2 separate regions of the Homo sapiens genome follow, and region 1 is linked to region 2. Evidence: promoter capture Hi-C in human tissues and cell types (Jung and others, 2019). All regions are on one chromosome and are shown on one strand. The core of a region is centred on a gene start or on the middle of the fragment in contact, and the rest is flanking DNA. Distances in the headings are between cores, read along the strand shown. Region 1 overlaps TAOK1 (TAO kinase 1). Region 2 holds the start of CRYBA1 (crystallin beta A1).

Evidence for each region. Contacts are between HindIII fragments. The study calls those that stand out against the background at their distance.
Region 1: a fragment that was not itself captured here is called in contact with the fragment with the promoter of CRYBA1 in region 2 in 1 of the 25 tissues and cell types used here (dorsolateral prefrontal cortex).

What each region holds. Positions count from the first base shown.
Region 1 is chr17:29,542,041-29,547,183 of GRCh38, reverse strand. TAOK1 (TAO kinase 1) reads right to left here. Exons shown (of 20, transcript NM_020791.4): 20 at 1-4,623. The coding sequence ends at 4,162. It also overlaps the pseudogene LOC124904148. Among named protein-coding and RNA genes, the nearest start is that of ABHD15, 22 kb to the left of the region's middle. The HindIII fragment of the contact is 5,004 bases long and covers 1-4,883 here.
Region 2 is chr17:29,243,650-29,248,814 of GRCh38, reverse strand. It overlaps CRYBA1 (crystallin beta A1), which reads right to left and starts at 1,956. Exons shown (of 6, transcript NM_005208.5): 1 at 1,921-1,956. The coding sequence starts at 1,951. The HindIII fragment of the contact is 12,335 bases long and covers 1-5,165 here.

The sequences.
Region 1 (5,143 bases), core at 1,132-3,631, 300 kb before region 2:
AAGAAATACATATAGAAAGCACATAAAGATTGTGTGATTTATTGGTTCTTTTTCTTATCATCTTTGCAGAGGAATCACCATCAGTGTTCTTACTTTCCATGGTTCATTTCTCTCTGCATTACTTATCTCTTATTGCATCACAACACAAACTCACAGAAACACTAACTGGCTCCTTCCCCAGCACCATTTTACTGCATTGCAACTTATGATTCCAAATTTTACTTAATGTCCTCTCCACTCACAGAAGTGCTAAGAGGGGATTAAAAAGGAAAAGACTGCATCTAATGACCACCTTCTCATAAACATCAACGCAGAGTACTCATTCTTAAGAAACACATGCATTCTTGCCTTAACTGAGGACTGAAATAACAAAACCAAACAAAAATAACAGAACTTTTAAGTGCCCTGATGGAAATGTACAGTATGAGTTACATCCATCCATCTATACACACATACAGACACTCATATGTATATACAATATATACATACAAATGATAATAGCTATACCAAAAATGTGCATATTTAATACAGTTTTAAAAAGCCAGTAGATCATGGTATAATACAATTTATTTCCACTAGTGAATGGCACAAATGGAGAAATGCAAAGGAGGTGTTTCAAGTACAATGAAGTCATTTTTCACAGGTGAAAATAAATAGTATTATTCCAGTGTCCAACATAATGTATTCTACAAAAGTTTAAAATGCCAGACATTTAGTACTTACAGAAATAGAAAGTTACTAAAGTCTGCTTTATGGTCTCAAAAAGACACTCATAGAGTTTTCAATTTTTGAAAAGGGGGTGAGAAAAAAATTGGTGGAAGCAGGAGGGAGTGTCCAGGATAGTTTCTTTAGTGTACTGAATGTTTACCTGATGTCTAGGCAACCAAAAATCATGACTATGCTAAAATGTTCCATTTACCAACAAATCCTTGACCTAGAGTACTAAGCATATTACACCAGTGTGTGTGGCTTCAAATACAAGACTCTCTATCTCTAGGTATTGAAATGGCGAATAAGAATTGCAGCTCTGAAAATATAATATAAACACATTTTTCAGATAGCATTATACAAATAAAAATACTTTTGGATACTAGAATTTGGGGTTAGAGCTGACTTCAATAAGGGGAGGAAAAAATATGTGCAAAGGGAAGGGAGCTCAATTTGGAATAATATATTTCAAAGTATGTGGCTTTGCATTTTTAAAATGCTAACCAAAAAAAATGTGAGATAGAGTGACCCCAAGGAACTTTTTACAGCCAGCCTCTGGATACCAGATATAGCATTTACAACTTCTGATATGCTAGACAAATTTTCCATAGTTTTAATTTTCTTAAAGACATATAGTGAGTGAACACCAACACTGGGAAGGAGGTAGTGTTAATTTGATCAAATATTGATATTTCCCCACTGATTCAGAAAGTGCTTGCTCTTTCTCTAGGATATCTCAAAACCCTTCCAATTTTTCTGCTACAAGCTTTACTCTATGATGGTTCCTACTATGTATGAGATTCCTCAGAAGCTAGATCTCACAAACATATACAAACCAATTAATTTGAATCATTTTTTGCAAACTGTATATACTTTAAAGTTAACTTAATGATAAAATCCAGGTATAGTCATGACCTACATGTAAAACTGGTGGCCAAATACATTAGATACAAAACCCTACTGGAGATCTGAATGGACTCAGTAACTCTCAATTTGACTAATTTAAGTCCACAATTGGACTTTAAAATGTACCACCAATAATATTTTGGGTTTGAAAGAGTTTTTGTATGCAAAAGTGATCTGCTTCCCTATTCCACCCATCCAGTAGTACAGAGCAGCCAGATCTATGAATAATTTTTAAGGGTATCAAATTGTATTTTTGACATTTTATTAAATTCTAAAGCTCTCTCGTCATTTTACACCAAATAAGTAATTTCTCAATTTGTTGGAAACGCTATAATACCTGAATGCAAAAAAGATACTGAGACGACTAAAAGCCCCTTTCACTGATATTACAAGTACATGTCATGTCATGTTTACCTAAAAACCGGTGACCTGGAGCATGGGCTGAAAGAACAACACATAAGAGTGCTTCTTGAAACACTGCCTAAAATTTTGTGTGAACTCTATGGTGATCTTGGTTTTAAAAACATTTACATTAAAACATTAATTTTCTTCCAGTTTCCTTAAAATGAATCCCAGAAACTCCTACAGGTGAGGATTCATGGCAACTCGACTGACATACCTGGGAAAGACTTAAAATTTGGTTGAGAAAACCAGGACTTCAACAGTGATAGATTGATTACTGTTTGGTCATTAGTTTGGTCTAGGCAAAGAGTGCCATTGAGAGGGACTTAGAGAGTTCTACCTTGGAGCCCTCTGACTATAGGAAAAGCAGGATCCAGAGTTAGCAGCAAGGATTCTTCAAGACAACTTGGAAGGGAGCAGGACAATAACTTGTAAGAAACTCTGATTTGTCACTGAAAAGGATATTTTTCTTCAAGTCATACTCACAGCTTCCTACCCACCTCCAACACAATTTATATACAAGAAATGGAAAACCAAGAAAATAACTGACTTTTTAGCATTGGGTTCATCCTTCATTGTACAACAAAACATAACAAAACAAAACATGTGCCCCCTGAAAAATAAGAGTTAGCTTTCGTCAAGAGATTCCCTGACCACTATAACTTATTTTACTTTTTTTTTTTAATTGGCCAAACTTCCTAGTTCCTTTTCAGTAGTACTTTAGCACTGAGGCTTGAGACTTGTGGAAGTGGTGTTTCCTATTGTGTGATGTTAACTTGATGCCAAATGGTCACTAAGTCTCAACGAACTAGAAGTTTGTAAAGTACTGCAGCAACGAAAACAGCAATTAAAAATAGAGGACCTGCACATGCAGCAAAATCTACAGTGGTGATGAAGATTAGTCAGCAGCTGGTAAAGTCATTGGCTCAGTGACTCCTGGTTCACTGTGGCAACTAAACATTTAAATAATTGGCTATTCTACTTGTAAACAGAAAATCACATAAGCCAAAAGGAGATAACAATTATGTCTATGTAGTGTGACGAGAATTTCAATAGATGGCAATTTGCAAATATGGCATCAAACACCTCCGGCATTTGATTTGTATTGGCTATATGTCTTTGTTTTTGTACAAACAAAGTAAAAGTACTGTTTGGGGTCTTGGGCATTATAGAGCTTAGCTAGGATGAGATATCACAGTATAAGCAACAAAACGTCAGGACACGTAAGCTTCATCTCCTCACTCTGCTGCGGGACATACCCACCATATGAACTTTCAGGGCCCCTCTCACCCTTCTGGTCTTCCCCATTGAAGGCTCATAGGTTTGTTAATGCAATCCTCACACAACTTGTGATCTCCTTAAGTACCCCCATCTTATCATAATACAAAGAAGGCACAATTGAATGGACAAAAATCACTCACAAGCCTATGACGCATTCAGGAAAAAAGAAAAACTAAGTTGTTTTCTACTCTCTGAAAAAATCAATGAAGTCCTTTAGTGTTCATGGATTTCTACACTTGATCTTAGCCAAAAGGCCGAGAAGCAATGTGTTCATGGATTTCTGCTTTCTTTTTTTAGTCCAAATGAGGCTGAGAAGTCAGATCAATTTAATAACAAATAAATACACTGGTGAGGCAATGCAGGTGTGTACCAGTAATAACTTATTTCAACATATGCTGCCTGCTGTGAGTGGCTCATAAGAATTTGGGATATGGGATAAAAAGGCTTTAGATCTTTTCAGAAACTTCTTAGGATACAGACACCCAAAAGTGATAACTGAAGCCATTTTGCTACGTTCTATTTTTGCAGTGTTCAGAAAAATCCCCTATCTAGCCAATTCTTTTCACCACATGCATAATATATGTGTATGTGTGTGTATATATATGTACACACATACACATTTATTTTTAATATCAACTCCACTTTTCAAAATTTCCCCAAAAACAAACAAACCCGGCAGCCAAGTACTATGACATCCCAATTAGTAAACACAAAACAGAACGCTTTACAAAAATGAATAAAATATACCATATGCACTCAGCTTCCACACTGTAGTACCCAAGTGAGGAGGCTGCTGTGATGATGTCTGTAGGCAGTTTCTTTTGGCAGACAGCTCCAGCGGAATTGCCACTCTCAATTATTAAGTTATGTATAAGACATGTGTGACCCATTGGATATTTGTGAAGTGACACTCGTGCTTCTGCTCATGCCCTGCTCCGTCCGTCCCCCAGAAGCTGTCCGCCTCAGAGCCTGGGGGCTATTGCGGACTCCCATACTGCTACCTCGAGGTACCCCTTGCATTGGCCCTGAAGGGTGACCCCATGGCTGGGGTCCACCTTGCATTGGATGGCCCCAAGCTTGTGGTGGGCCACCCATGGGATGACCCCAGTGAGGTCCTGGACCCCCAGTAGGGTTGTGTGACCAACCAGAAGCTCCCGGGTAGCTGTGGCTGAATGCCTCAGGGGAGAGATTAGAAAGGACCATATTACTAAAACCTAGTCTCATGCTTTCAGAGTCAAAAGCTTCAATCTCTCTGGCTTGACGTTCCAACAGGCTTCGTATTCGTTCTGTGCGCTCATTCTGCAAAGCCAACATCTCTTCTTCAATCTGTTGGAGATTGGAAGAAAAATGAAAGCCAATTTATTATTTTTAAGTCTATAAAGAAAGGAAGCAATAATTATTCAGCTTTGAAGTGGTTATTTTATGGATGTATATTTGTCCATGAGTTTCAAATTTTATTTAAACTTTTTCCCTTTAATTTATTAAAAAATTTTTAAAGTTTTTATATATTCGGGGGTACAACTGCAGATTTTTTTTACATGCACATATTGCGTAGTGGTGAAGTCTGGGCTTTTAGTGCACCCATAACTTGAATAGGGAACACTGTACCCAATAGGTAATTTTTCAACCCTCACTCATCTCCCACCCTCCCACCTTCTGTAGTCTCTAGTGTCTATTATTTGATGCTATGGATATACATTTAAAAATCAAGGCCGGGCGCGGTGGCTCACGCCTGTAGTCCCAGCACTTTGGGAGGCTGATGCGGGCGGATCATGAGGTCAGGAGATCGAGACCATCCTGGCTAACATGGTGAAACCCTGTGTCTACTAAAAATACAAAAAATTAG
Region 2 (5,165 bases), core at 707-3,206:
TGTATTTTTAGTAGAGATGGGGGTTTCACCATGTTGGCCAGGCTGGTCCCAAACTCCTGACCTCAAGTGATCCACCGCGCCCAGCCTGAGCCTCAGTTTTTCCATTGGTAAAGCTTCGACATGCAGTTATTGTAAGGATCAGAAATAATAGGCCGGGCACGGTGGTTCACGCCTGTAATCCCAGCACTTTGGGAGGCCAAAGCGGGCGGATCACCTGAGGTCGGGAGTTTGAGACCAGCCTGGCCAACGTGGTGAAACCCCGTCTCTACTAAAAATACAAAAATTAGCCGGGTATGATGGCACACGCCTGTAGTCCCAGCTACTCGGGAGGCTGAGGCAGGAGAATCGCTTGAACCCGGGAGGCAGAGGTTGCAGTGAGCTGAGATCGTGCCACTGCACTCCAGCTTGGGCAACAGAGTGAGACTCCATCTCAAAAAAAAAAAAAAGAAAAAAAACAAGGATCAGAAACAATAATGCAGGTAAAGCACTGAGACCCTGTCCTCTCACTTGCTTTCAGGTGACAGCATTACCTCTGTCTGCAATATAAACTCTTTGGCAACCACCTAGGCCAGACCCCTCATGTGACTGGCCAAACAGCCAGCCATGCCAGGATCCCAAGCCCCAGACTCCCTCGTAACCCTTCACGGTCTCATCCTTATCTGGCCTCTTTCTGCTTTTCTTTTTCTTTTTTTTTTTTTGAGATAGAGTTTCACTCTTGTTGCCCAGGCTGGAGTGCAATGGCGCAATCTCGGCTCACCGCAACCTCCGCCTCCCAGGTTCAAGCGATTCTCCTGTCTCAGCCTCCCTAGTAGCTGGGATTACAGGCATGTGCCACCACGCCCGGCTAATTTTGTATTTTTAGTAGAGACGGGGTTTCTCCCTGTTGGTCAGGCTGGTCTTGAACTCCCGACCTCAGGTGATCTGCCCGCCTTGGCCTCCCAAAGTGCTGCGATTACAGGCATGAGCCACGGCGCCTGGCCATTCCTTTCTGCTTTTCTATCTCCTAGATCCTACCCAGCCTTGACCTTGCCTTCTCAGAGGCTTTCCTGCCTTCTCCAGCCCACAGCCACTTGCTTGCTTTCTTGATTTATAGCACTCATCACAGTACCAATCTGTGTTCTGGTTGGATGTCCTGGTGAGCACCTCAATGGCAAGGCCTCGGTCTTCTAGGGGATTGGTATAGCATCGTGCTGAGCACATGTGGAGATGAGGGATCAGGGGGACATTGAAAAAGACTTATTGAAGGAAAGTGAAGAAGAAAAGAGTTATAATACTTACACTCAAAAATGGCTATCTACATGTCCGGCCCTGTTTTAAATGCTTTACATGCATTCATGCATTTAATCTTCACATACAGACTATGAATTAAGAATTATCATTATCCCCATTTTACAGATGAGGATACTGAGGCTCAAAGAGGTTAGGTAGACAGTGAAGATGGTAGGACGAGTTTTAAAAAAGGAAGGACAGAGCAAGAAAGAGGAAGGAAAAGTGGGGGAGGAAGGGAAGAAGGAAGACAGGCAGGTGTGTATTAGGTTTCTTAGGACAGATATTCATGGCCCTCCTCCTGGCTGGTATTGGGCCCAGGAATGATGCATGTCAACTCTGTAATATATTTTTCCATTCTGAATCTCTGAATAAGCAACATTTCCCAGGTCCTGCTCCCATACCTTCTCCCTGCTCGTTTCTTGGGGGCCCATGCCCATCCCCCAGCCTTAGTTGCTAGGGCAGTGGTTATTGCTATATAAGTGACTCCTCTTGGGGTGACAAGAGAAGGCTGTCTTCCGCCAGAGTTCCCCACTCTTCTCCAGCCACCCTAGAAGGCTCTACACACTAGGCAGGAGAACTGGGCCCTCTCCTGGGCATGTCTCTGCAGGGCAAGGAGAGGAAGGGCAAGGGCACCCTGAGGGCCTTACTCACCCAGCTCCTGCTGCTCAGCCTGGGTCTCCATCTGGTACCACTTGCTCTGTGGCCCTCCTCTTTATAGCCCTGCGGCCTCTGGCCTCTGGCCCTGTCAGCACTCTGCTCTCCCTCTGCCTTTGTTCCTCATGATCCCCAGAGCTTTGGTGGCTCAGCTTGCTGGGGCCTTTGTTTAAACCAGGGATACAGAAATCCAGAGAGGCCCCTCTGTTGTGGGCATGGCTGGCTGCTGCAGGCCTTGGCTTTCTTAATCTCTCAGAGCAGCTAGGGGGTGAGGACAGAAGTCTCTGCCATGAGTACTTGTCTCTTGTCCTTCTCCAGGTTCCTCACACCACCTTGGGATCTTCCTAAGACCTTAAGACCCTGGGAGACCCCATGTCATATCAAACACATCAAAATGCACCTCACTTCCATACAGATGTGCATTTCTTGTTGTTTAAAAATGTGAAAGAATTATTGTAATTCTGAACTCAATATGAGAAAAAATGGTTCATTGTATTCTTGGGAATCTTTATTATGCTGTATTTATATATAACTATGTAAGGGTTGACTTCAATTATAGTTGACTAGCAGACATGTGTCTCTCTGTAGCTATTTTATTAAATATTCCTTTTAATTTTGCAATTTTCTTTAAAAATTTTGGAGCTATAACTTTTGGGTTTTTTAAAAAAGAATTAAACCATTTATTGAATAATTCCTATATATTAGACATGTGCTAAATGCTTTACTTAAAAAGTTTGAATTAAATACTTTTCCACAACAAAAGAAAGAAATACTTTTTCACAGCCACCACAACAGTGCTATTTTCACCTCCATTTTCCAGATTAAGAAACTAAGAGAACAATCAGGTGACTTGCCTAAGGTCACAGTATTTATAATGGCAGAGCCAAGACTCGAATCCAGTTCTAACCAACACCAAAGTCACTGCCCTGCACTGGCCCTCCCTCAGGAGTAATGCATAAATGGCCCAAAAAATTCCAGGAGAGGAAAGAGACCCCCCTGGCTAGAACTGCAGTTCTGAATATAAACACTGAGCATATAATGGATGTAACTTATCTGTTTCAAAAGGGGAAGGAGCCTAGAAATGAAGCAATTTTTCCTCCTCAAATGATCTTGGCTGCCTGTCCCTTTGTCTTCCATGTTAATTCCTTTCACCATTCTGCTCCCAAACAGGCCAGGTCCCACATCAGTTCCAGGAGGAAAGGGCTCTTTCAGCCTGCGGGTCATCGTTGGGCAGCAGTAGGAAGGGGAAGAAGGCAACCTTCTGAATACCTCCTTTGGACTCACCATCTAGATGTAAAGGGTTCACCTGCTCCATCTCAGATTCCCGGGGGCCTTCCTGTGAAGTTGTCTAGGCAAGCGGTGATAGGGACCTAGATGTCCTTGCTTCTCCCCTCTAGCTCACCCAGGCCAGGGGCGAGAATTCCTGCCACCCACACCTTCAAAACCAATTTTTTTTTTCTTTTTGAGACAGAGTGTCGCTCTGTTGCTTAGGCTGGAGTGCAGTGGTGCGATCTTGCCTCACTGCAACCTCTGCCCCCCAGGTTCAGGTGATTCTCCTGCCTCAGTCTCCTGAGTAGCTGGGATTACAGACACCTGCCACCATGCCCGGCTAATTTTTTTGTATTTTTAGTAGAGATAGGGTTTCACCATGTTGGCCAGGCTGGTCTTGAACTCCTGACCTCAAGTGATCTGCCTGCCTCGGCCTCCCAAAGTGCTGAGATTACAGGCGTGAGCCACTGTGCCCGGCCAATTTTGACGTTTTACTGAATTGTTTTAGGTCTTTGGAAATCTCACAGGCCCAAGTTACTATGCGTATAGTACCTTAAAGTGTAAAATGACTTCTCCCAGAAACTTCAGGACACTTGATGAAGGTAAGGTAGGGGAATCGTGGGCCTCCGCAGGGGCCCTGAAGGGGAAGATGTGTTCTGCAAGCATCACAGATATTGTGAGAAGCAAGAGGCTGCAATGGATGTGGAAGGCTTTGAGCCAGGCAGATGTGGGTTCAAATCCCAGTTTCCTGGCTGGGAGATTTGAAGCAAGTCACTCAGACTCTCTCAACCTCAAAAATAGAATATCTGCCTGATACATTGTAGGCTTATGACTCCTTACCCTACTCTCTTTCCAATGAAAGATACTATTGAAAATTTCGCTGGGCACGGTGGCTCACGCCTGTAATCCCAGCACTTTAGGAGGCTGAGGCGGGCGGATCACAAGGTCAGGAGATCGAAACCATCCTGGCTAACACGGTGAAACCCCATCTCTACTAAAAATACAAAAAATTAGCCGGGCGTGGTGGCGGGCGGCGCCTGTAGTCCCAGCTACTTGGGAGGCTGAGGCAGGAGAATGGCGTGAACCCGGGAGGCGGAGCTTGCAGTGAGCCGAGATTGTACCACTGCACTCCAGCCTGGGGGACAGAGCGAGACTCCATCTCAGAAAAAAAAAAAAAAAGAAAAAAGAAAATTTCATAGCAGCTTGGAGAGAAAAAGAAAGTTCTCTCAATTCCTCTGCAATCTCTCCAGTCCCCGACTCAAGTTTCATCAGTGGCCCCTTTTCTTCAGAACCAAAAATCAGGGGGTGAGGTCTGGTATGTATTCGAGTATTTGCAGATTTGGGTAGAACGTTCCAGACCAGGGGTTTCCAATGTTTTGGCTTCCCTGGGGCACATTAGAAGAATAATTATCTTGGCCCACACATAAAATATACTAACACTAATGATAACTGATGAGCTAAAAAAAAATTACAAAACAAATCTCATAATGTTTTAAGAAAGTTTATTAATTTGTGTTGGGATGCATTCAAAACTGTCCTGGGCCACATACCACCTGCAGGCTGCCGGTTGGACAAACTTGCTGTTAGACATATAAATCTGATGCTAAGCATGGCACATCGCCCCAAGGATGTTTCTGATGCCTTGATTAACTCGTGATGTCTGGACGGATGTCTGGCAGGGGACAGAGTTGCTTTTGGTATCATAGCATGCTCTGGCCACCTGGTGGCTGTGCAAGGGCTTAAAGCACTAGCTGTCTATGGTTGGTGATTCTTCTTTCCTTTCCCTTCTCTTCCTCCTTCCTTTCTTCAGAATTAGGGTCTTTGGGAAACACTCATTTAGTCATTTTTTCAATCATCCACTCTTAGGCTGGCTTAGGCCCTCACAGTGTGTCCTCATGTCATCCTGTGCTTTTCCAATTACACAAGATCACATTGATCATGCTGCAGAAATTGCTTTAGGAACTAGAAGTACT